Regions from separate parts of the Homo sapiens genome. Here regions 1, 3, 4, 5, 6 and 7 are each linked to region 2. Evidence: promoter capture Hi-C in 16 types of primary human blood cells and fetal thymus (Javierre and others, 2016). All regions are on one chromosome and are shown on one strand. The core of a region is centred on a gene start or on the middle of the fragment in contact, and the rest is flanking DNA. Distances in the headings are between cores, read along the strand shown. Region 1 has its middle 21 kb from the start of NOS1AP. Region 2 holds the start of SPATA46 (spermatogenesis associated 46). Region 3 overlaps NOS1AP (nitric oxide synthase 1 adaptor protein). Region 4 overlaps ATF6 (activating transcription factor 6). Region 5 overlaps OLFML2B (olfactomedin like 2B). Region 6 has its middle 7.6 kb from the start of OLFML2B. Region 7 overlaps NOS1AP (nitric oxide synthase 1 adaptor protein).

Region 1 (3,071 bases), core at 243-2,742, 330 kb after region 2:
AAAAAAAAAGAAGAAAGAAAGAAAGAAAGAAAGAAAGAAAGAAAGAAAGAAAGAAAGAAAGAAAGAAAGGAAGGAAGGAAGGAAGGAAGGAAGGAAGGAAGGAAGGAAGGAAGGAAGGAAGGAAGGAAGGAAGGGAAGGGAGGGAAAGAGAGAGAGGAAGGAAGGAAGGAAAGAAAGAAAGAAAGAAAGAAAGAAAGAAAGAAAGAAAGAAAGAAAGAAAAAGAAAGAAAGGAAAGAAGGAAAACTACAGGCCTGGGAGACGTAAGAACTGAGTTTAAGTTTCAGCCTTGCCACTTGGCCAGCAGCTGTATAATATTAGACATGTGGCTTAAGTTTCCTCAGCCTCAATTTCCTCAGCTGTAAAATAATATGGTGACCATCATGGTCTCTTTCAGTCCTAACATTCTATGATTCCCTTCTCCAATCTTTATCTCCCTCTGGATATTTATTCATAACCTGAAAAAGAAAGATGAGCTGATTTTCACATTGCAAATTATCTCTCAATTTAGAATGAATGAATTAGAACATACATATGGACAAAGATAAAAAGAAACTAAACCTAAAATTAAAATCTCCTTATCTAAAACACTTAAAATATGAATAAATTAGCTACCAATAGAATCAGAAAGAAAAGACATTCTCTGATATAACGCTAAAGAAGATGATGATAATCACCAAACCAATGGTGCTGTTCTATGAGAACAAGCTGTATTTAAAGTGGAATTTGTGTGTTCTTCAATACAGATAAATAGAGCTATCAAATACACAGTTGTCACAGATTATCTCTGGAGACACAAATTCATGCTTTAAGGACTAAAACTTAGCATCCCTTTGATGCTTAATGGGATATGTCATCTTGATGATATATTACTTTCATCAGTAAGGTGATTTCCTCTTGTCTTTCTAAGTAATCTATGCAAAAACCTCTTGCAAACCTTTCTTAAAAGATTACTTGGGTATCATCTCAGTTTTAAAAACTTATTAATACAAATAAATAGGTTTTGTTCAGTGTTTTGCACCTTTAAAGTATAGCACATGGTATGAGCTCAATAATTGTTTCCAAAGTGAATGATTTAAATTGAATAAAGCACCAGACACTTGACAAATGGAATCACTGATACAGTTGAAACAGCACTGGCATCAGGGTCTTGATTGCCTCTTGCTAGCTGTATGATTGTGGGAAATTTATATAACATCTTTGAGCCTCGGTATTCTCATCTGTAAATGGAGACAATTCTACCCAAACACTAAGCTTAATGGGAGAATTAAAATAGATGATATAAAAAAGGAAATCTATGAAAAACTTCAGCTCATATTATTCTCATGATGAGTCTAAATACATTCCCCTCTAAGATGGGGAACAAGTCTTCTCTCAATTCTATGCAACACCATGCTGGATGTCTTAGCAATGCAATGAGACAAGATTGGAAAGAAAGAAATAAAACTGTCTTAATCCTCAGACAATGTGATCATCTACATAGAAAGTCCTGAAGAATCTATAAAAAATGAACCAATAAATGGATATAACAAGTCACAGGACACAAAGTAAATATACACACAGAATATACAGGAGGAAATGATGTTATTGGTAACCTCAGAAATCCAAAGAGCCAGATAATTTAGATAACACAAAGAAACTAAGACCACACAATCATGGCATGTATTCCTTATTTCATTTTCGTGAGAATTGTGTGCATTTGGTTTTGTACATGATATATTTTCATAAGCTTGCCTTGAGAGGAAAAACAAGTTTTTCAGATGAGCAAATATATCTATGGAATAAGCTAGCTTGCAAAGTCAATTTTAATCATGCATATAATTTTACAGAGTGATGAGTTCTTTCTGGAAGCCATGAAGTTCTTGCAACTTGAATAGATAAGAGAGGACTTTTGCAAAGGCCACTAAACTCACCTATAAAACAAATGTCATCTGTGGTCACCACCTATCTTGAGGGGAAAAAGTCAAAAATATATTGGGCTGCTCTTAATGTGATTGACAATTTTAGCAGATTTGTTAAATATTCATATGATTCTCTGGTGGGAAAGACATCCTGTATTTACATCAGTGAGTAATTTTTCCTATTGCTGCAATAGATTATATATGAGAAACAGTCTTACCGATCTTGCAAGTAACTGAGAGCTTATGGAAGAAAGATGAATATTTTACTGAAAAGGATGCAAGCATTCATTATATGAGAAGCCATGTAACTGATGTATATCATCTCTAACATCAATAATTTATATAATGGAAGGTTCAGTTACTGGAATTTGAAAACATCCATACACTTGCCTGAGTGTACCTTGTGTTTTATGTGTCCTAGGATGGATTTTTGTGGCACTGTCTATGTTAGCCCTGTCCTATGCAAAAATCTGAGGAAGCAGTTTTGATGTATAATTAATTATATTTTCTAACAACATTTAACTAGAAAACTGTTAAAAATGTTTGCCCACTTATCACCTAAGATTATCGGATATATCACCAGTAGTATGCATATCACCTTGGGAAACACTCATGGGAAAAGCACTGTAACTGCAGCCAAAATACCTAAATTCAAATTATGGTTCTGCTGTTTAGTAGTTATGCCACCTCGAAACATTAGTTCACATTTCTGAGCTTCTGTTTCATTTTTAAAAGGAAGAGCAATAAAAAGGATATTTGGGGATCATCTGGAACACCAACATATAATCAAATATTGCCACATATTTCAAGGTTTGTGTCTGCATTTGCATCTTCATATAAGCCCAGTGGAGTTCAATGAAGTCACAGGGAATAGAGTCTTCTTAGTAGTTCAGACAGAGAAAAATGGGGGCAGAACTGAATCATGCCAAGGCATTCAATAGCACACGCAGCTGAATTCAAAATAATCTGCACTTAAGGCATCAACACTATATTCAGGAGTTTCAATTCCTTAAAAAAATATGAATAATGCATTTATGCCAAGAGAAGACTCAATGATGTTGCAGCATAAATTATCATTGCAGAAGAAAAGTTTTGTCCTTAAACTATTAAAAGAATTTAACATGACCACAATAACAGTCATGGGTCAATTGCCACTTTGACATTAGGATATA
Region 2 (3,386 bases), core at 298-2,797:
AATTGCTGATACCCCCCAAACTGCCAAAGTATGTGGCTTCAACTTACTTTCCAATACATGCTAATGTTCCAAACCAGGCTATCTGGGAGGAACACGAGGGGAATCATGTTCTCCCATTGTCCTTCGAATGTTTCAGTACCGTGAATAAATACACACAGGAAGACAACTCTGGGCTCTCACGTGCAGAAGCTAACTCACACCTCACTCACACATGCTCGACAGCACTGCAAAACAAGCCCATCACTATTTCCAGAGCGGCCATAGCTCCCCATGCAGCATAAACATACCTGCCATCTAGATCTGCAGCCCTGCTCTGTATCTAGTTGACATGTTGTGATAATCTAGAAAGGGGTGTCTTCAGCTTATCTTCCAAGTGTCACAATCATCTTTCACCTTATTCCACACCTCGTTAGTGCACAAGGTTGTTATAGGACAAGCGAAACGAAGAGGCAACCTTGCCTCTCTGGAGTCCCAGAGTCTCCCCATCAAACTGACTTAAGCAATGAGCAAAATAGTATTGAGTAAGCCACCCATTTGTGCTTTAGTCACTTGCTAAAAAGAGCACCAACCACTGAAAACAATATTTGGCCCCTATTCTTAGGAAATACACATTGAAGTACTTAGGTATAAAAGGACATAGTGTTTATAACTTACCTTCAAATAGTTCACAGAAAAAATTAAGTATATACACATACACATGGGGCAGGGGGCAGGAGGAAGGGGACGGATACAGCAAATGGGGTAAAATGTTAATAGGAAAATCTGGATACAGGGCATAAGGGTGTTCTTTGTATTGATTTTATTTTTTGCAGCTTTTAAGATGGAGTCTCGCTCTGTCACCCAGGCTGCAGTGCAGTGGCGCTATCTCAGCTCACTGCAGCCTCTGTCTCCCAGGTTCAAGCGACTCTCCTGCTTCAGCCTCCCAAGTAGCTGGGATTACAGGCACCCACCACCACGCATGGCTAAATTTTATATTTTGAATAGAGATGGGGTTTCACCATGTTTGTCTAGCTGGTCTTGAACTCCTGACCTCAAATGATCCACCCGCCTTGGCCTCCCAAAGTGCTGGGATTATAGGCCTGAGCCACTGCACCCAGCCTAATTTCTGCAACTTTTACAAATTTGAATTTCCAAAGAAAATGTGAAAAATATATACACCTCAAAAAACAAACTAAAACAAAACAATAAAAATATTTGCTGACAGAGATTAGGCTGATAAAGGAGAAGAAAAGGAAGGAGATTATTCAGACAGGACAGAGGTTTCCAGGGCTGGAGGGCTGGGGGTAGACAGTGTCAACACAGAAAACTGATGATAACAAAGATAAAAGGGGACAAATAGACAGCATCACTACAGTATCTCTACTACATTCTTCTCTCTGGGTATTGTCAATCAGGGCCTGCCACTGGGCAATGGCAAGTCAAATACAATCTTTACACATTTTAATCTTGCTTTCAGTAGACTCCATTCATCTTCCAAAGGGTAACCTAGTTGGTAGTGGAATCATGTGCCTTGTGACATCAACTGTGCTCAGAATGTTTATCCTCTGGACAAACCAGCCAGCCTCTCCAGAGCAGGCGTGTGATCTCTGTACCCCCGCAGTGGTCAGAATATGGAGAACTTCTCACTCCTCAGCATCTCTGGACCTCCAATCTCTTCCTCCGCCCTGAGTGCTTTTCCCGACATTATGTTCTCTCGTGCCACCAGCCTGCCAGGTAAACTTTGGTGCCACTAGGGCCACAAAGATGTGGTTTTTTTTGAAGCTTTTAATTGAGTACCCTACCAGATCATGTTACAGGACCATGATTTAGTGAGAAAGTCAAATTACGCATGGGGAGAAAATAATTTTTCAAAATGCTGCATTTGTGGTAAGTAGTTACTGCTGTGTATTGATTTTTGGTAAGGGAAGAAAGGGGAAAACTTTTTTTTTTTTTTTGAGACAGAGTTTCACTCCTGTCGCTCAGGCTGGAGTGCAATGATGTGATCTCGGCTCACTGCAACCTCTGCCTCCTGGGTTCAAGTGATTCTCCTGCCTCAGTCTCCATTTATCATCAAGTTTTTCCCCCTAGATTGTGCATGAAATCTCAAGGTGGCAGTATGTCTACATAGAGTAGAAACTAGTTTTAGCTCTGTTTTGACAAGTTTGGAGAGGATTTGGAGTTAGCCAAATCAGAGAAGCCTAAGCAGCAGCGTAAACTGATGAGCACATCATGGAATAAAGTTGGACACCCTGAGGACTCCCTGTTCAAAATACGGTCCTTAGACTTGCAACGTCTGCATCGTCTGGGAGCTTGTTAGAAATGCAGAATCTCAGGTTCCCACCCCAGATCCACTGAATCAGCATCTGTGTTATTAACAAGATCCCTAGGGGATCTCTATGCACAGTAAAATGGAGAAGTACTGCTCAGTGGAGTAGGCCTCCTAAGCATCCATTTGTCTACATATATGACATTTATAAATTTGTCCCCCAAACTGAACACAGCTGCTATTCTGGGATTTGAGGCAGGTCAGCTTTTTGTCCAAGTGTTAGCACTCCAGGGTGTGCCGTGCAGTGATGGCCCACGGGAACCCTGACTGTGGGTATGAGATGTTTCAACTGGACAATCCTCAAAGCGGGCATGGAACATTGCTCTGCAGCCTGTGACTCTGGGTCCCAGGATGCTCAGGAGACTGGCAATGCGGAGTGAAGCCATCCGCGTGATGAGATGCAGGAGGGTTAGGTGAGGGGCAGGCCAGGCGGAGAGGTGTCATCTGGGCTACATCATAAATCCCACTTTCCAGAGGATCTTTCTGAGGCCTGAATGAAATGGCCCCATTCAGAATTCCCCAGGATGTCATCCAGAATAGCTCTGCCTGGCTGAGTTTGAGAGGTCACTGTTCTGTTTCAGCGTTGAGATGCCTTGAAGTACAGAGGTTGAGCCCCTAGGTATGCCTGGGGGAGTCCCAGAAAGTGGAATCCCAACCTTGCTCAGCTCACCAGTGTTTCTTCTATAACCCAGACATTGCAAAGACAGCAGTACCCACTGAGGCATCCAGCCCAGCTCAGGCCCTGCCACCCCAGTACCAAAGCATCATTGTCAGGCAAGGGATACAGAACACAGCGCTCTCACCAGGTGAGGACTTCTCTGACTCTGGGCGGGAATGTGTGAGAGGCTAAGGATGAAAAGGGGCTGCTTCCCTAAGGAAGCAGAGGTGTCTGGAAGCTGGACCCCCATGCGCGGTCTTGTCACCTGCAGCCTCCTATCTGGCCCTTCTTCCTTTGGTAGACACCCACAGGCCTGGGGCTCTCGCCTTGCCTCCCCTCTCCTGTCTCTGAAACTGGTGTGCAAGAGCAGTTTCTGGCTGAGTGGGCCGTGGAGGGATCAAGATGAGCAGTGAGGCTGAAAAA
Region 3 (3,350 bases), core at 680-3,179, 290 kb after region 2:
AATGTGGCCTGGGAGAGTTCAGGACAAGCTGCAATGCCAATCCCATCCTTTGTTGGATCCACAGCCTTGAACTAGTCACTTTCATCTCTTTGTACTTCAGTCCCCCTCATCTGCAAAATAACAGAGCTGATTTAGGACCTAATCTCAGAGGTGATCTCTGAGGTCCCTTCCAACTCCAGCACTCCGTGATTCTATATTTGATTCTTCCTGTATATTCTGCAGACCACCCCACCTTGCCCCAGTGAAGTCACATCCCAATTACTTAATGCCCACGTAGTGGTTGACAGATCAATTAGAGCAAACAGCCAGAACACAGCAAGACTGCACAGCACTCCACATGCTCCTGGGCTGTGTAAAGTGCCCTCTCTCTTTGAGGAGTGGGAGGAGGAAACTTGTGATCTCTGTCTTCCCTTAGCTGTTCATCAACATGTTGCTCAAATGTAATTACACATAAGCAGGATTTATTCATTCCTTATCCTATGTTCTCAAATCTTTATATGTTTTGCTGCTCCATGGGGGAAAAATAACTTAAAATCTCAGTCAGCAACTTGCCACACTGTAGTGAAAATTAAAAGCAATATCCCAATTCTGGGAAAATGGTGGCAATATATTTATTGAGTCTTCCACAGTCTCTACAAAAAATAAACAGAGCAACTAAATAGCAAATTTAAAAACTCATGGATGACACTCAACAAAATTTGGTGACAAGTTATCGGAGACAAATCACCAATAGCCAGTATGATATTGATGTCTATGTGGGAACAATCAAAGGGAAGCAATGGGGCATATGATGAACCTGAACCCAAAAGAGCCAATAGGGTAAACTGGAGAACTGCCGCTGAACCTGGAACAACAGGGGACCCACAGGAGGTTCGAAGGGCTGGAGCACTCAAGCCACTAGGAACTCTCAAAACTGATTGCCCAGGACAGGACTCCACACCAAGAGAAACTGCTGGGAACAGAATCAAAATGAAGCAGGACAGGCAACAGAGACAAAGAAAAGAGAAGGCTCAGGTAAAAGAGAGAGATGGAAACAGAACTACCACATTTTTTAAATCTCCATGAAAACAAGAGATTTTTAAATCTCCATTTCTCTGTGCAGTTAGAAATACTACCAAACCAACCCTCCTTTTTAAAATTCAGGAAAACTAAGTTTACATAAAAATTAACAACAGAAAAGTAACAAGGTCAAATCCATAAACATTTCTATAAAAAAAGAGAGAATAAGGAACAAAATAACATCCTTAGAAATATGTGATAGTGAAAGCATGCCAAAAAGACATATTTTTAAATAAGCTAAAAATACTTTAAATTATGCAAGGCATGAAAGAACAACATAAATTAGAATTAGAAAAATTCAGAAATAAAGTGACAAAACTCAAGAAAGCAAAGTAAAAAAAGAAAACTATTTTAGAGATAAAAACTAAACTAGAAGAAATATAAGAAAAAATAAACCTAAAAACTGCCTGAAACTTAGGGAAATTTTTTAATTAAAAAGAAATAATAGGAAAGAGATCAAAGGGATTTGAAAGTGACAAACATCGAAGATAGGCAAACAAGAACCAACATATGGATAAGAGTGGTTCCGGAAGAACAAAACCAAAGCAAGGAATATAATTCTAAAAACAGTAGTCTGTGAAAACTTTCCTGGAAAAAAACTATTTGAAACCTGATATTGAAAGAACATATTGTTTACCTGAGAATACTGACTCAGAATAATATCAACATATACTCTAGTAAAATTCTCAGACTTTTTTTTTTTTTACAAAAGATAATTTAGGCAGCATCTAATTTTAACTGTATACAAATTATAAGGAAAAGAAAAATTAGATCAGATTTACAACAAGCTTTATGCCAGAAGTAGATGGAATAACACTTAAGATTTTTTAAAAAATGTCAACCACAGATTTAATATTCAGCAGTTTTGACCTTTCGCATACAAAGAGCATAGATAAAATGTTATCAACATTCAGAAAAAAAAAATCAGGGAATATTGTTTCCATAAGCTTTTCCTAAGGATACTAGAGAAGAACTTTGGATAATCAAAGTGACTAGAAACAAGAATGTAAGTTTTGGTAGTAAGTATTAAATATGTAATTATTGAAGAACTAAAAACTAAATGAGGGTTAAAAAGGAAATATTATAATGTGTAATGACTATATGATTGTATTAGTTAACTAGGGCTGCTATAACAAACTATGACAAAGCTACAGGCTTAAGACAACAGAAATTTATTTTTTATAACTCTGGTGAACAGAAGTCCGAAGTCAGTTTCACTGGGCCTAAATCAAGGTGTTGGCAGGCTGCACGGCCTCCAGAGGCTCTAGAGGAGAAACTATTCCTTGCCTCTTCCAGCTGCTGGAGGCTGCCAGCCTTCCTTGGCTGTGGCCACATCACTCCAATATCTGCCTCTGTGGTTACACTGTCTTTTCCTCTTCTGTGTGTAATCTCCCCCTCCCTCCCTCTTGTAAGGACAACTGTGACTATATTTAAAGCCCACCCAGATAATCCAGGATAATCTCACCATCTCAAGATCCTAAACTTAATCACATATACAAAGTCTTTGTCATGTAAAGTAACGTTCACAGATTCCAGAGATTAAGACATGAATACTTTTTGAGGGACCATTACTCAGAGTATCACAATAATACAGTATAACCATTTTAAAAGATGGTGAAGGATACAGATGACATATTTTTTAAAAGGTTTTGGACTGTTTTCAGTAATCATAATTGGTGCTGGTGTTTGTACTACTATTCTGAGATTCCTAATTGTGTAGTGTAGGATAAAGCAAGTGAGTAATTATGGAATATTGGATTCTGTTATTCCCTATGTATTTGAAAACCAGAATTCTCAGTGTGGACAAAAGATCAGATGAAATACAGAAGTAGTTAAGATATTGGAAATATCAGTATGAACACACAAGTATGTTTACATCTATCACATTCATCCTTGCTCTTTCCTTATGTGTAGTTTCCCAGCTCTGTTCACCAAAAAAGACCTACAGACAATGGCCAACTCAATAAAAATTAGCATCCCTGGTGCCAAGATAATGGTCTTGAAATACAATTTTGCATTAAAAGATACCAGGTCTTCCTGGAGAAATGATTGATTCCAGGTCTGAGACACAAAATACACAAGGAGTGGAAGAGAGATGAAGGGGAAGGAGAATGGCGAGAGGGAGAGAAAATCCCTGATACCAAAAGAGGTATCGGTCTCCAGATTGTATGTATTCATAAATTCATAATTCATAAAGACGTTACCACAGGAAGGGGAAGGAGGTGCTGCTCAGCCCTGGACACACACACACAGTCTGGACACACAGCTAGCAGTGTCCAGCCAAATGCTTA
Region 4 (3,294 bases), core at 14-2,513, 410 kb after region 2:
TCATTTGGGGGCTTTTTTCTCTCTTTCTACATACAGAATAAACAAGGTAAGTTTAAAAATTCTTTATTTGAATTTTAGAGAAATAACAGGTAGTATAAAGACTTGCTTGAAAGTATGAAATAGTCTGTTGTTATTATTTCTTTAGGTTTTGCAAACCAACATCATTATTAAGGGAGAGAATGGTACATCTCTCCTCCTCATCTTTAACACGTTCTTCAATTGGCATGGGTACAACCTGAGCAAAAAGATCCTGGTGAAATGGCATCTCTAACACTCCCCCCTCAGTTCTAATGGCTCCATGGATGAAGCCCTACTGGACTTAGACCATCCATACTTGCCAAAGTGGTAACAGGAAACCAGTGCCTCTAAGGCTAGTAGTGCATAGTAGTTTTCATCTAAAGCTCTGTTTCCCCATCATCTCCTCTGTCCTGGTGACTGGCCTGGAAATTATGGCAAGGATGAGTTAAAATGGATCAATATACAATTGCTGTGAAAGTCAACCTACTAATCTCTAGCTGGGATTAACATAAAGGGGATATGCCAAGCCTCCTGGTTTATTCAACTTCATTGAGAGCAAACAGCACAATAGTGTTGTTTGTTGGCCTTGGCAAATGATAAATTATGATTTATTTACTCCTTAGTTACCAAACCTAATATAATTAAAAGTATTTTAGTGTGCTAAATCCCTAATGCTTAAAGTTAGCAAACCAATATGTTGAGAATGGCACCCACTATGTGACAGTGGCTGGCCATGACATGGATTCATGCGTAAGATCAAATTTTCTAATCAGATACCTTTGTCATTCTTCTTTTCATAAATTCTATTGCATCTAATAACACACATATTAGAACAAATGGCCGAAAGTTCTAGTCTTACCCAAAATAAACTGTTTAAAGCTTAGTCATTAAAAAGATAAGAACAGAACACACTTTACTTTCTTTTTTTTAGGTAGGAGAAAACTGCATTTCTTTTACGAGCATAGTTCCTTTTGGATTCTGGCAACATCTTTTTGGGTAGTCTAGTATTGTTTCCTAGGAAATTAAAAATCAATCCCAATCCCTGTGGGTGGAAGAAAATGGGAATATTCACTTCCAAATGTTATTAGGGGTGGGAACGAACATTTCTTATATTTCATTCTCTTTTAGGCTTTATTCTTGTTTCTAAAAGTTATAATTGGTATTCATATTAGCAGCAACAATCCTAATTTCTGTAAGTTAAAATGACTCAGGACTGATGAAAATAACATTTGTGGTAAGGAATATGGAGTCCACAGGTGGTAATAAGTGTCTATCAATTTTGGCAATTCACAATCTTATTTAAGAGGTTAATTGGTATGAAATAGCCAATAGTATGAAAAGATCTCAGTCGGCTGAAGGAAGCTGAGTCAGCCCATCAGTATGCAGTGGAAAGAGGGCTTTCATGGCTGGAAAATTTCCCATGACTTCAGAGTGAAAGGGGGCATCAGATCAGGCTCTAACTCTTCAGGCTGTGAAAGCAAAAGTGGTTACTTCTAATATGTTGTTGAAAGTGAAAGTCACTTTGAAACTTTGCAATGTGTTAGAAAGTCAAATACAATTATAAGTTTTTCCTGTAATACATTTCTGTCAAGTTTCACAACCTAAGCTTGGTAAAATGGCAAGAATCAAAAAATAGTAGGAAAGTGGCAAAGAGCTTGAGAGTTTTCCAGTTTTAACGATGCTAAATGCCACCACGGCAGTCTCACCAGCATCTCGCTGCGGTGACTACCGGGGAATACACACAGGGGAGGAAGGTTCAGGCTAAGATTTAGTCAGGATGATGTCTCTTTAAAAATGATTTGAAAAATCAATTTGAATCCCAAGTTCCTTTTCTGTTTCTAAACTTACTTGGAACACTTAAGAATGACTCACATAACATTGCTTTCAAATACCTCCGTGTCAACTTCTTACTGGCAAGAAATGGCAAAGAAATGCCAGTTTTGTGCTGGAACTTGTAGTCATTAAAAAAAAAAATTAGATGATGCTCTGAGTTTTATAATCGTGAGGGATTTTTTACTTGTGAAAACACAAATCCCACCCAAAACTCCATGTGAAGTTTCTGTACTACAAGCATGGCAAACAGCAGATTTGTTTCAAGGATGATCCTTTCACATTAACTCCTAACTTTGGAGTTAGTTTACACTAACACTCTAATGAAGCTGTGTCCCTGTACTGCTGGGCATAAGTCAACCCCAAAGGGACAAGCTCCTAACATCTGATTCAGTAGTTAACATGAGGAAACATCCACTTACTTCCATTAACCCTTAAAAATTTGGGACTTGCAACCAGGCAGAAAGACTATTCCCATCAGTCTCTACCATCACTTCCCAAGAGTGTATTATTGTCAGCCCCAAGAGCACAAAATCATCTAATAACAGGAGGACCTGCCTCCTCCATGAGTTTATCTAATTGTCTCATAAGCTTGCACAATCCTGTTTAAAATTTAATAAATAAAAAAATACACACATTACCCACAATTTCTGGCTGCAACCCCCAAAAGGCAATCCCACCAAAAAAAAAAAAAAAAATTAATCTGGCATGGCAACTTCTCATTTCCTAAAGGGCCTTGTGCATACAAACATTAAAATAAAAACTACAATTGTGCCTAGGGATTAATTATAGCTTTGCCAGCAATTTAAAAAGTGACTACTTCTTTGCATTTGTCAATTGCCTTTCACTCATTTCCTGAAACTCTACCCTTAGGAGAATCCTGTCCCCTCATTTCAAAGATCCACTCAAGAACAGGCAATGACAAAGAGTAGAAGGGCTAGTGAGAGACAAAAGAAGGCAAAGCTCCCAGGCTGCTCTAGGCGGCACCTTACAGGCACCCCTAGCTCTGTGGCAGAGCTGCCGGCCCTGCTACCACCTTCCTGCTCTTCAGTGGAGACTCCCTCCCAACCGCTACCCACCTTTTCACCTGGAAGAGAGGGACTAACGTTGGTGAGTATGACATAACCAAAGTCTTGCATCTGAGGAGTTGGCAAAATGATGATAGAAAAAGCTGGGAATCGAGGGATGAAGTAAAAGTGAAGCGCTAAGAACAAGAAGGCCACGAGATGGGTCCTTCTCCTGTGATTCTGTCACAGAGAGGAGGGAAACTCTATTTATAATCACCCCACACAAACCAGGTTTACATTGACCATGATAACGTATGACAGTTCCAGCAGAAGATTAGCATCTTGGGGATGACTATGTTGCCACTGTCTACTAGCCATGGTCACAGCCTCTGGTGTGGCTAATTCACATTACAGAATGGGAAGGGGCAGGGCCAGAAGA
Region 5 (3,089 bases), core at 392-2,891, 360 kb after region 2:
TAACAAATTACCATGAACAAAATGCCTGTGTAACCACCAACCAGCTCAAGAAACAGACCAATTTTAATACCCCAAAAGGCCCCCATATGCTCTCTCCTACTCATACCCTTCCCTCAGGGGAACCTTTATCCTTACTTTTATGTTAATCATTTTCCTTGTTTTTCTTTATAGTTTCATCGTTTAAGGACGCATCCCTAAATGTAATAGTTTTGCCTTTTTTGAATGTTAAATACATAGAATCCTACAGAAGTGTGTGTGTGTGTGTGTGTGTGTGTGTGTGTGTGTGTGTGTGTGTGTTGGGCTTTTTTCACTCAACTTTATATTTTTAATATTTACCTATGTTGTTTTTGTGTCTTGTGGTTCATTCATTTTTATTGCTGTGTAGTATTCTATTGTATGAATATACTACAATTTATCTGTTCTCCTGATGATGGGTATGTGGATTGTTTCCAGTTTCTGAATGCGTAAATCAGAATAGCCCTATGGACATTCCTATACATGAACATCCCTGTGCATGTACCCTGGTGCATGTGTGCCTGCATTTCTCTATGGTACATTAGATAAGTGGAACTAGAAGATAAGCATTAGTTATGCTTATCTTCAACTTCAGGAGATATTGCCAAACTGTTTTCCAAAGTGGTAGTATAAGTTTACATTGCCTCCAGCAGGGTATAAAAGTTCTGCACACATCCTCACCAACACTTGGTATTGTCAGACTTTCTAGTTTTTGTCAATTTGGAGGCTATAACTTAGTAGGGTCATTTCACTGTGTTCTAGAAACTTAACTCCAAAAATATCTTTCCAGTTCACTGGGGGAGGTCTGAAACCTCATAAACCAGTTTTAAAACTGCTCCAGGAATAAGAAACACTCAAGGTGGTCAGCAGTCCAACATAGACCCCAGCTGACCTCTCCTTCCTGTGAGTGGCTGGGAAGGGGAAGGGCATGCAGGAAGTGTAGGTACATGTTGGAGTTGAGGGGTGGGTGGGCACAGAACATAAGTATCTGAAGAGATAGGAGTTAAAAGTCTAGAAAGAAAACCTGTAACTTCCAAAGGCAAAGGCAAGCCCTGTTCATTGCATACAGAGCTGGCAGTGGCACTCACTCAGCTCAAGAAAAGACTTCATCCGGGCTCTGAGTGCACTCAGAGACCCATAGACTTGTAGGCTGCCAGGCCTAAAGGTGGATTCTGAAGGCAGCAGGACTAGAGGCATGGTGTTCAACCCCTAGCAGCACATACTGCTTCCAGGGGCAGATTTATTACTAAAGTGGAGAAAAAGACAAACAGAGGGACAGATCATTATAATAATCTTCTAGCATCAAGGCTTTAGTTGGTTTCAGTCATTTCTGTAAAATTTGCAAATTTTATGAAGAAATGTCCCACCCCCACCTTGCTGCAGGATACCTGTAAGTGTTTATAAGTGCTTGAAATGCTTATGTACACATGTGCCTTTGTATATGTGTGGGTGCATAGCCCATGCTCTTAAAATAGATGCATGCCTGCAAGCTTTCCATAGCGTGGTTTCTGCTTTGTCCCTTCTGGTGTGTGTATCTCTTTCCTTTTTCACGAATCTACCTGCTGGAATTTGCAAACCACACCCATGAGCATAGATGGCACGAGGGAACCTTGTGTCCCAGCTGAAGACTTTTCTCCTGATAATGTTGCCTCCGAGGAAGATTTAAGTCCACGATGGATTTACCAGACCCAGAACTGGTCCGCTCCCCAGAATGTACTGGCACAGGCATTGCTGAGGGCTTCTCCCCCACACCTAAAGCTTTGGTGGCTTTTGTGTTTCTGGACTGAAAGGCATGATCAAAGAAGCATTCCTGACCCTGGGGGATATATCGTTTCACCAGCTAATAGGAAAACGTAATTTTCATCTGTGCAGACTTGGCTGTGAGTTGGGGGAGCTGTCTCTTTCCAAGCCCTACCTTTCCTTCCACCCTCCACCCCTGTCGAGACACCCCCAGGGCTCACTCTCCTGATCAAATCTGCTCTTTCCGAGGGGTTTGCTGTAAGTCATTTCACTCTTCTTCCTCAAGTGAAGGCTTGGAGAGGGGCACTGCTTACCCGGCCTGACTTCAGTGTCCTTATACGTGAAAAGGCAGAGGGTCGAAGTTAGTGTTTCTAAAATATATTTCAGCCTAACACTATTTAATTCAATTTACATCTTAATATGAGTTAAAGCCAATATATTACCTCTCCCAGGGTTGTATATACTTCAAATCTAATTTGCAATTGTGGGATATAAAGTTTTCTTCTTGGCTGAAGAGACTTACAGTGCGAGTGTCAGCCCTCCATCCGTCGGCCTAGGAACAGTTTAGAGCTGCCAGGATGTGCAAGTGTGCATGGCTCGAGTGGCTCTATTTTAAGGGGTAAGATTACCCTAATATAGAAATTCATCACCAGAGGCCTGGGTCTTCTTGCTGTTGCCTTGTTTGACTTTCCTGCCAGGCCCTGGACTTCTTAAGGGCAAGCTGGGTCAAGTCATCTTTGTTTCCCAGGCCCTGGTCCAGCACCTGATGTGGGACAGATGCTCCACAGCTGTTTGGTTGGATGAATGTTCAATGGGGCAGCTGGTGGCTCCCTGAACCCAGGCCTGCCTGTCTCTCCCATCAGCTGTGGTCGGAGGGATTAGGCCATGGCCTGCCTGTCCTGCCATCAGGAGCACCGGCTGTTTCCAGCTGTTCTCTTCCCCAGCTCTCTTACCAGGGGCTAGGAGACAGCTGTCAGCTGGGGTTGCTGTCCCAGGCCATCTGGTCGTAGCTGTCTCCTGGAGGGTGCAAAGGTTGAGCACGGTGAGCTGATGGGAACTACGAGCCCTCCCCCCTTGGGTCCAGTTACCCTCACACTTGCTCAGGTCACTCCCATGAGAAACTATGTCCCATCTGCCCTTGGGCTTGCCATCTGTATCTTAGCCCTGTGCGCATCCAGCTATCTGCCAGGGAATCCTGATGCCCACAGGACCTACCAGGCAGCCTCCCAGGCAGCCTCCTTAGATATGGCTGTGTGCACCTGCTGTGTGACTTGGGGCCAGGGTTTGCCTCACCTGCAGTCTGGCTTTGTCTACTCCCACAGGTGTCTAGTGTG
Region 6 (3,139 bases), core at 156-2,655, 350 kb after region 2:
CCTGGGTCTGTGGTTTTGAAGCCCCCATAAAGCTGAGACTAGACTCATCTCTCTTGCTCCCAAGTAAGACTTCACCTTCATATTAGCGTCCAAGTTTCCCCTCGATGCTAAATCTAAGATTTACCCTTTGTTAAGCCTTCTGTGATCTTTACATTCTTTGTTATTTTCAGCCTTCCAATTGAGGGTTGGGGTTTCATTTCTAAAGGGATAAAGAAAGGAACATGTGGTTAGCAGTAAGCACCAGTAAGCAGAGGTGAATATTTTTATGATCCCCACCTTAGTATTAAGAAACTGAGGCTCACAGAGATGAAGTGACTTGCCCAAGGTCAACAGCAGTTATGGTGGAGCCAGAATTCCACAGCCAGTCTGTCTAACCCTACATCCCAGACTCTGTCATGGCTCTAGGCTGCCTGACAAGGCTAAAATTGTTACATTCATGTACCCCAAAGAATGGAGGGGTGCATGAATGTAATTTAATTTCATATTCAAATGTATGAATGTATGGATGAGCAAGTGTATTGACTAAATATTTTCAGTGATTAATCTACCAAGTGAAATATCTATAGCAAGCTGAGGTCTGCATGTATACACACCAGGTTAAATTTACCATTTAGTCTGTTGGCTGTAGGATGGTGAGACATCACATCTGGATTAGAACAAGCCAAGCAGGAGGAGGAAAAAAATATCACCTGGAGAGAGAGGCACACAGAGGAGTTGCTTCTGCCATTCCTGGATACTAAGTTGGGTTGTCTCTTACGGGGAGATACTTTTCTATAAGATGATTAATTTATGCTAAATAAGTACATCTTCAGAAGTAGAAGGAGGCAGAGAGCCAGCCAGCAATGGAATAGGAGAGAGTGGACATCCATTGATTTGTCTGGTCTAGCAGCTCCTCCCTAGAAACTGCCCCTCTTTCCACTTTGTTTCTACCAAGTGACCTGTCCCCCTGCCCCCCGCCTTAGTTGATTAGTTCAGGATTGGGCATCTGACCCATTTTAGAGCAAGGCCTTCCCTGGGCATTTGGAATTGGGCCTGAGAAGGAAAACTAACCACACTCAATATTCAAGTAACTCTGACCGGGCACCTTCAGTCTACTGTGTGGACCAGAGATGTCCTAGGTTCAAATGAGCCTCTGATGACCCCAGTGACATTAGAGCCCTTGGGTTTTGTGAGACACTCCTACATCCTTATAATAAAGTCTCCTTTACCCCCAACACCTTTTTTCCTTTAATCTATATAAAGTTGCTTGTAACTTACAAGCAGGAATCTAAACTAACATCCTTCCCCTCTCTCACCTCCATATCCAGAAAGTCACCAAGTCCCACTAATTCCACCTTTTTGGTATATCTCATACCCACCCCTTTCTCTTCACCTCCATGCTACTGCCTTTATCAAAGCCTCCCCATCCGTGCCTGGATTTCTACAACAGCCTCCAAATAGCTCTCCCTACTTCAGCCTGACTCTCCCATTCATTCTCTGTGCCACTGCCAGGGCCACCTACTAGAGTTCACTCCCTTGCTTACCAGAATTCTCATAGCCTTTGGCTTGAACTCCAAACTCCACAGCACATACACAAGCCTCGTGTGATCTGGCCCTCCACTCTAACTGCTCGCTGCATCCCCTCTCTCCCTCTGCTGTGACCCCTGTGTTCCACCTGAGCTTGCATTTCCCAGTAACTCATCACCGTTTTCTAGTCTCTAGACTTCTACTTGGCACACTCCTCTCCCAGCCTTTTCTCAACCAGCTTCTATTCATCCCTGCTGATCAGGAATAAATATGAGCCCTTAGACATCAATTCTAAGTCTAAGAGGTGGTAATGCATGGGCCAGGTCTTCCTTTTCTCTACTTCTGCCTCTCTGGGGTTGTCCCATAAACAAGGCCTTTTGACTTCTCAGTGTCTTCCACTGCTACTTTTCTAGCAAAACCAGCTCTCAGGAAGGGGCCTGTTATTTACTCTCTGGTATAGATTTAAGGCAATGAATCACCTCTTCCAGGAGTATCTGCATGTGGAGATTCATCACTGAAGGCAGAACTCATTAGCCCTAGTAAAGGGCTATCAGGCTTCTGTGAGAATGCAGGGGAGGTGTGTGAGTGCCCTGAAAAAGCACACCACACGGACACTACATCATGTGTAGGAGCTGCCCTGAGCACGGCGGTCTCTTAGAACCAGGAGAGAGGGAGAGAGAGAGAGATCATGGTGTGTAGAAAGCAATGGGCTGTATGCAATGTTCCTGACCTGTCCCAGGACAGTGTTCAGTGGTTGCCAGACATGCCTTGCATGATTCTCAGGGGCCCCATTCACAGGGACTATGATATGAATGGTATCCCCTAGAGTTGTGCCATGTAGCAGCCCTGGAAAATTCCTTGGAAAGGCAGAATCTCTGCCTACCTATCCCTCCTTTAGTCACCACCAATTATAGAGGGCAAGGGAGCTTCCCTTTGAGTCAGAGCAATGACCCACTCAGCACAGGACTCTGGCTCAGGCAGAGCCATTCCAGGAGGCCAAGTGGTCTGCAGGCAGGGAATTGCAGTCATTGCTCTGCCTTTCTCTCTTCTGTCCACTCTTCACCACCTGAGTCATTCATCTAATCTGCAAGTCTGACAATGGCACTCTCTTGCCCCCAATCTGTCAATGGCCCCTCAGTGCCTGTGAGACATACTCCTAGCTCTCTGGGATGGCACGTAAAGGCCTCCACAACCTGGCCTCTCACTCTTTCACTAACTTCATTTCCTCTCACTCTTCGTCTTGTATTTTACACTCCAGCCTCTGCCTACATCACAACCTTCATATCTTGAAATCCCAGTCCTTGTGGTCCCCTTGGCCTGGAATGCCCTTCTCTCCTCCTCCACACCTTCTTTCCCTGACCCCACTTCCCTACTTCTGTCCCTCAGGCACCATTGTCCTTTACCTGGCAAACTCCTGCTCCTCCTGGAAGGTCCCCCAGAGCACCCTGACACCACTCTCCTCCCATAGACAGTTGGATTGGGTGGCCATTACCTTGGCCATCCTGTCAGTGGGCCTCCACAGTGTCTGGCACTTGTCCATTTATGTGTCTCTCTCAGGAGACTGTGAGATCCTTGAAATATTATCTTGAATTAATTATTATTAATGTCTTATTCATTCATGTTTCTTTAGTGT
Region 7 (3,390 bases), core at 486-2,985, 260 kb after region 2:
AATACAAATTCTCTCCTCATTTCCTTCACCAGGTTCCCAATTCTTTCCTTGTTTCCCTGTTTGTAAACAAGCTTAATAACTGCATAAATTTTTATCATTTGGCCACTTACATAAAAATTCCTCAATTGTGAGCACTTAAGCTGTCTTTCCATTTTTCATTATTATAAATAAAATTGATGAATGTAAAGATATAATGCAAAAAATATTTTACCATATTTAGGCTATTTCTTTAGAATAGATTCACAGCTTAAAGAATTATTCAGCTAAAGGGTATATTTTGATATATACATATATATACACATACATGTGTATATATCATATACATATACATGTGTATATATCATATACATATGTATATACCATATACATATGCATATACATATATATAAAATCAAGTTGCTTTCCTAAGAGGTTGTACCAATTTACACTCCCACCAGCAGCACCAAAGACATCCTATTATTCACAGGATAGGTTCGTACTTGTCACTTTGGCCATATACCAACTGTTACCATCTCTGCTGCCTCCCCCATGCCATCCGTTTCCTTTACAACAAGCCAAGGATCCCTAATATGTTTCACTCTTCAAGTCTTCAGAGGACGATTCTACGCAATTCCAAGTGCCTCTGTAAATCCCCTCATCTGAAAAGAATACCTTTTGCTACCCTTCAATACCTCACAAAGACAAGAGAGAGATTCCCTCGCCCTGGCTGTTAAGTACTCTGGGATCCAAGAGAAAGCTAGAGCCGCATAAAGAATTAGGGAGACTACGATAAATTTTTAGTAAGGGAAGAATAAAGAGCCATGCAAGTAGGTTCCTAATACTTCTCTTAAACTGACTGAACCCTCTTTCTGTTGGCAATTTTTAAATAAAAAAAGAATAGCAGCAGTACGAGTCCTTTGCTTATATTTTACCATTTGTTGTTGTTTTGTTTTGTTTTTTGGCTTTTATAGAATGCGGAGTAAACCCAAAAGAGATTTCTGCTTTATCTAAACAGAAACTAAAAGCAAGGACACCATATACAGTTCTTAGGGAAAAGCAGACACACGAGCTCAATGCTTGCAGAATATGTCTGTGTAGTAAATCCTTCTAGGTTAATCAGGTTCCATATTGCCAGTGTCAGACACTGAGCTGCCAGACCCCATTTCCAAACTGGAGGAAAGTAAAGACTCTCTAGAATGCCTGGAGAGACTTTCTCCAGAGCTCTTGCTGCTATTCCTCATGGGCTACTGGAAGAGTTCCCATCCATGGACCCCAAGCAGCCTCTCTTCCGGTTATTATGACAGGAAACTATTTCAGTTTCTAGATCATTCTTAAAAAGAAAAACATTCTATGAGGGCCTCAAAAGTAGTAGCTCTACCTCCCAAAATGCAGCAGATGATGGCAAAATTACCATCCAGCTCTCACATGATTTGCCTTATCATCAAGACAAGTGGCTCTTATCATAGGGACCTAGAAATCCCCATGAACTTTCTCATAGGTCTATGGGCTCCCTGAAATAATATGCTAAATTCCACTCCCTGTTGATGAGTTTTCTGAGGAGAGAGGCCAAGGCTCCGAGATGAGGTTTTCATGGAGTCCAAAAGTGAAAAGAACTCACAGAGTCCAAAAGAGATGTCTGACACACCCCTACCTCTACCTCAATCTCTTGCACAGCCCTGGGTGCATACTGGGTATTCAGTAAACATGGAGCAAATTGAGAAACATCAATTGACTAATATATATATTCAAAACATAATGGTTATGCATAAAGGATTTACAAATACTGATTATTTATACATGAAAAACAGCAGCTGGAGTGTTTTTGGTTTGGGGTTTTTTAATGAAAAGTTGACTGTAATATCAGCAAGACAAAGCACTTGATTCTATCACAAAGACACAAATGCCTGCCTGTATGTTCACTGCAGTGCTATTCACATTAGCAAACACGTGGAATCAACTTAGGTGCCCATCACCAGTGGACAGGAAAAAGAAAATGTGGTACTATGAAGCCACAAAAAAGAATGAAATCATGTCGTTTGCAGCAACGTGGATGTAGCTGGAGGCCATTGTCCTAAGCAAACTAAAGCAAGAATGGAAAAACCAAATACTACATGTTCTCGCTTATAAGTGGGAGCTAAACACTGAATACACATGAACGTGCATATGGGAACGACAGACACTGGGGACCACTAGATGCGGGAGGGTGGAAGGGAGACGTGGGCTGAAGAACCATCTGTTGGGTACTGTGTTTACCGCTTGGGTGACGGAATTCATTGGGACCCCAAGCCTCAATGTCATGCAATATACCCATGGAACAAACCTGTATGTGTTTGTTAATCTATAAAAAAGTTGAAATTAGTTTTTAAAAAGCAATTGTTATTAATAAAACATTTCATAATCTTTTTATCTGTATCTTCTCATAACAACGTTGTGAAGGAGAACAATGAGATACGCCTGGTGCCTAGAAGATATGATAAATGTTCACTGACTGATGTGTGGTAAGAAAGTGGAAGCAAAAGACAGATATGTGGACCTGTCCATCATCTGATGACCAGAAGCCATGAAGGACCGTTAGGCTCCCAGGGGACAGTGGAAGCCCCATGTGTCCCAACACATATGTGTGCATACAACACACACACAACCTGGGCTAGGCACCTTTTCCTGTACCGTGCCTTCCTGAAAGAGCTGGAAGGGTACAGCCCCAACTCGTTCCAGTTGGGATCTTAGCAGAAAGGAGAACTAAAAGGCACTTTAGCTACAGCCTGACAAGGTGCTTTCAGAGCACCAGCCCCCCTTTTTATTTCAGGGAGCACAATGATACATTTGTTCACCAATGTGCTCAGTGGCATGTCTGAAAGACAAGGAGGAGTGAGGTCAGCAGTCCCAGCTGAGGGGTAGCAGGAAGTCCTGGGAGTCCTGAGTTATGTCTGCCAGGGCTCATAATGTGTCTCTTGACTTCCCTATGTCTCCCTCCCTTCCTTTTAAACAAAGAGGATGATAGCTAGGGTACCTGAATTCATGCATCCCTGTCTAGAGAAAGAAACACTAATGGCAAATTGTCTGGCAAGAATTCACCAGTTTAAAAAAAGACTTACCAAGCAGTCAGACTAAAGTGTCAGACACAGGCCGCAATCCATTAAGCAGCAGCAAGTAAATCCACAGATGAATCTAGCTGCTACCACCTGACATTAATCTGATAAAGACAGGACCAATGTATGGAAACCTGCAATATCTGGAGAGACAGCCTATGCAAACAGAACAAAATGCATAAAATGAGCTCCTGTCCCCAGGAAACTGAAGCCAGCATTTTCTGATTATTAGATTACGTCCTAGTAAATTGATTAATGCTGTCCACAGGGGCACTTTTAACTCCATTCTTACTCCCTAGTGCTAGGGTATACATATCTGCAA

The links. Contacts are between HindIII fragments. The CHiCAGO score rates a contact against its expected background, and 5 or more counts as called.
Region 1: a fragment that was not itself captured here is called in contact with the fragment with the promoter of SPATA46 in region 2 in 7 of 17 cell types (M1 macrophages, M0 macrophages, megakaryocytes and 4 more); the score reaches 26.5 in M1 macrophages.
Region 3: a fragment that was not itself captured here is called in contact with the fragment with the promoter of SPATA46 in region 2 in 5 of 17 cell types (M2 macrophages, M1 macrophages, M0 macrophages and 2 more); the score reaches 7.3 in M2 macrophages.
Region 4: a contact is called between a fragment that was not itself captured here and the fragment with the promoter of SPATA46 in region 2, in 5 of 17 cell types (M2 macrophages, erythroblasts, M1 macrophages and 2 more). The highest score is 7.3, in M2 macrophages.
Region 5: a contact is called between a fragment that was not itself captured here and the fragment with the promoter of SPATA46 in region 2, in 1 of 17 cell types (M0 macrophages). The highest score is 5.6, in M0 macrophages.
Region 6: a fragment that was not itself captured here is called in contact with the fragment with the promoter of SPATA46 in region 2 in 4 of 17 cell types (M0 macrophages, M1 macrophages, erythroblasts and 1 more); the score reaches 8.0 in M0 macrophages.
Region 7: a contact is called between a fragment that was not itself captured here and the fragment with the promoter of SPATA46 in region 2, in 7 of 17 cell types (M1 macrophages, M2 macrophages, M0 macrophages and 4 more). The highest score is 9.9, in M1 macrophages.

The regions. Positions count from the first base shown.
Region 1 is chr1:162,046,928-162,049,998 of GRCh38, reverse strand. No RefSeq gene overlaps it. Among named protein-coding and RNA genes, the nearest start is that of NOS1AP, 21 kb to the left of the region's middle. The HindIII fragment of the contact is 475 bases long and covers 1,255-1,729 here.
Region 2 is chr1:162,375,015-162,378,400 of GRCh38, reverse strand. SPATA46 (spermatogenesis associated 46) reads left to right here and starts at 1,547. Exons shown (of 3, transcript NM_182581.4): 1 at 1,547-1,713; 2 at 2,998-3,111. The coding sequence starts at 1,611. The HindIII fragment of the contact is 3,530 bases long and covers 1-1,763 here.
Region 3 is chr1:162,088,784-162,092,133 of GRCh38, reverse strand. The region is part of intron 1 of NOS1AP (nitric oxide synthase 1 adaptor protein); the gene reads right to left. Among named protein-coding and RNA genes, the nearest start is that of NOS1AP, 21 kb to the right of the region's middle. RefSeq lists enhancers at 1-145, 146-741. The HindIII fragment of the contact is 159 bases long and covers 1,850-2,008 here.
Region 4 is chr1:161,960,824-161,964,117 of GRCh38, reverse strand. It overlaps ATF6 (activating transcription factor 6), which reads right to left. Exons shown (of 16, transcript NM_007348.4): 16 at 48-3,294. Among named protein-coding and RNA genes, the nearest start is that of OLFML2B, 61 kb to the left of the region's middle. The HindIII fragment of the contact is 727 bases long and covers 900-1,626 here.
Region 5 is chr1:162,011,100-162,014,188 of GRCh38, reverse strand. The region is part of intron 3 of OLFML2B (olfactomedin like 2B); the gene reads left to right. Among named protein-coding and RNA genes, the nearest start is that of OLFML2B, 11 kb to the left of the region's middle. The HindIII fragment of the contact is 268 bases long and covers 1,508-1,775 here.
Region 6 is chr1:162,029,912-162,033,050 of GRCh38, reverse strand. No RefSeq gene overlaps it. Among named protein-coding and RNA genes, the nearest start is that of OLFML2B, 7.6 kb to the right of the region's middle. The HindIII fragment of the contact is 3,654 bases long and covers 1-3,139 here.
Region 7 is chr1:162,117,049-162,120,438 of GRCh38, reverse strand. The region is part of intron 1 of NOS1AP (nitric oxide synthase 1 adaptor protein); the gene reads right to left. All of the region lies in intron 3 of LOC105371475 (a long non-coding RNA gene), which reads left to right. Among named protein-coding and RNA genes, the nearest start is that of MIR4654, 38 kb to the left of the region's middle. The HindIII fragment of the contact is 3,323 bases long and covers 74-3,390 here.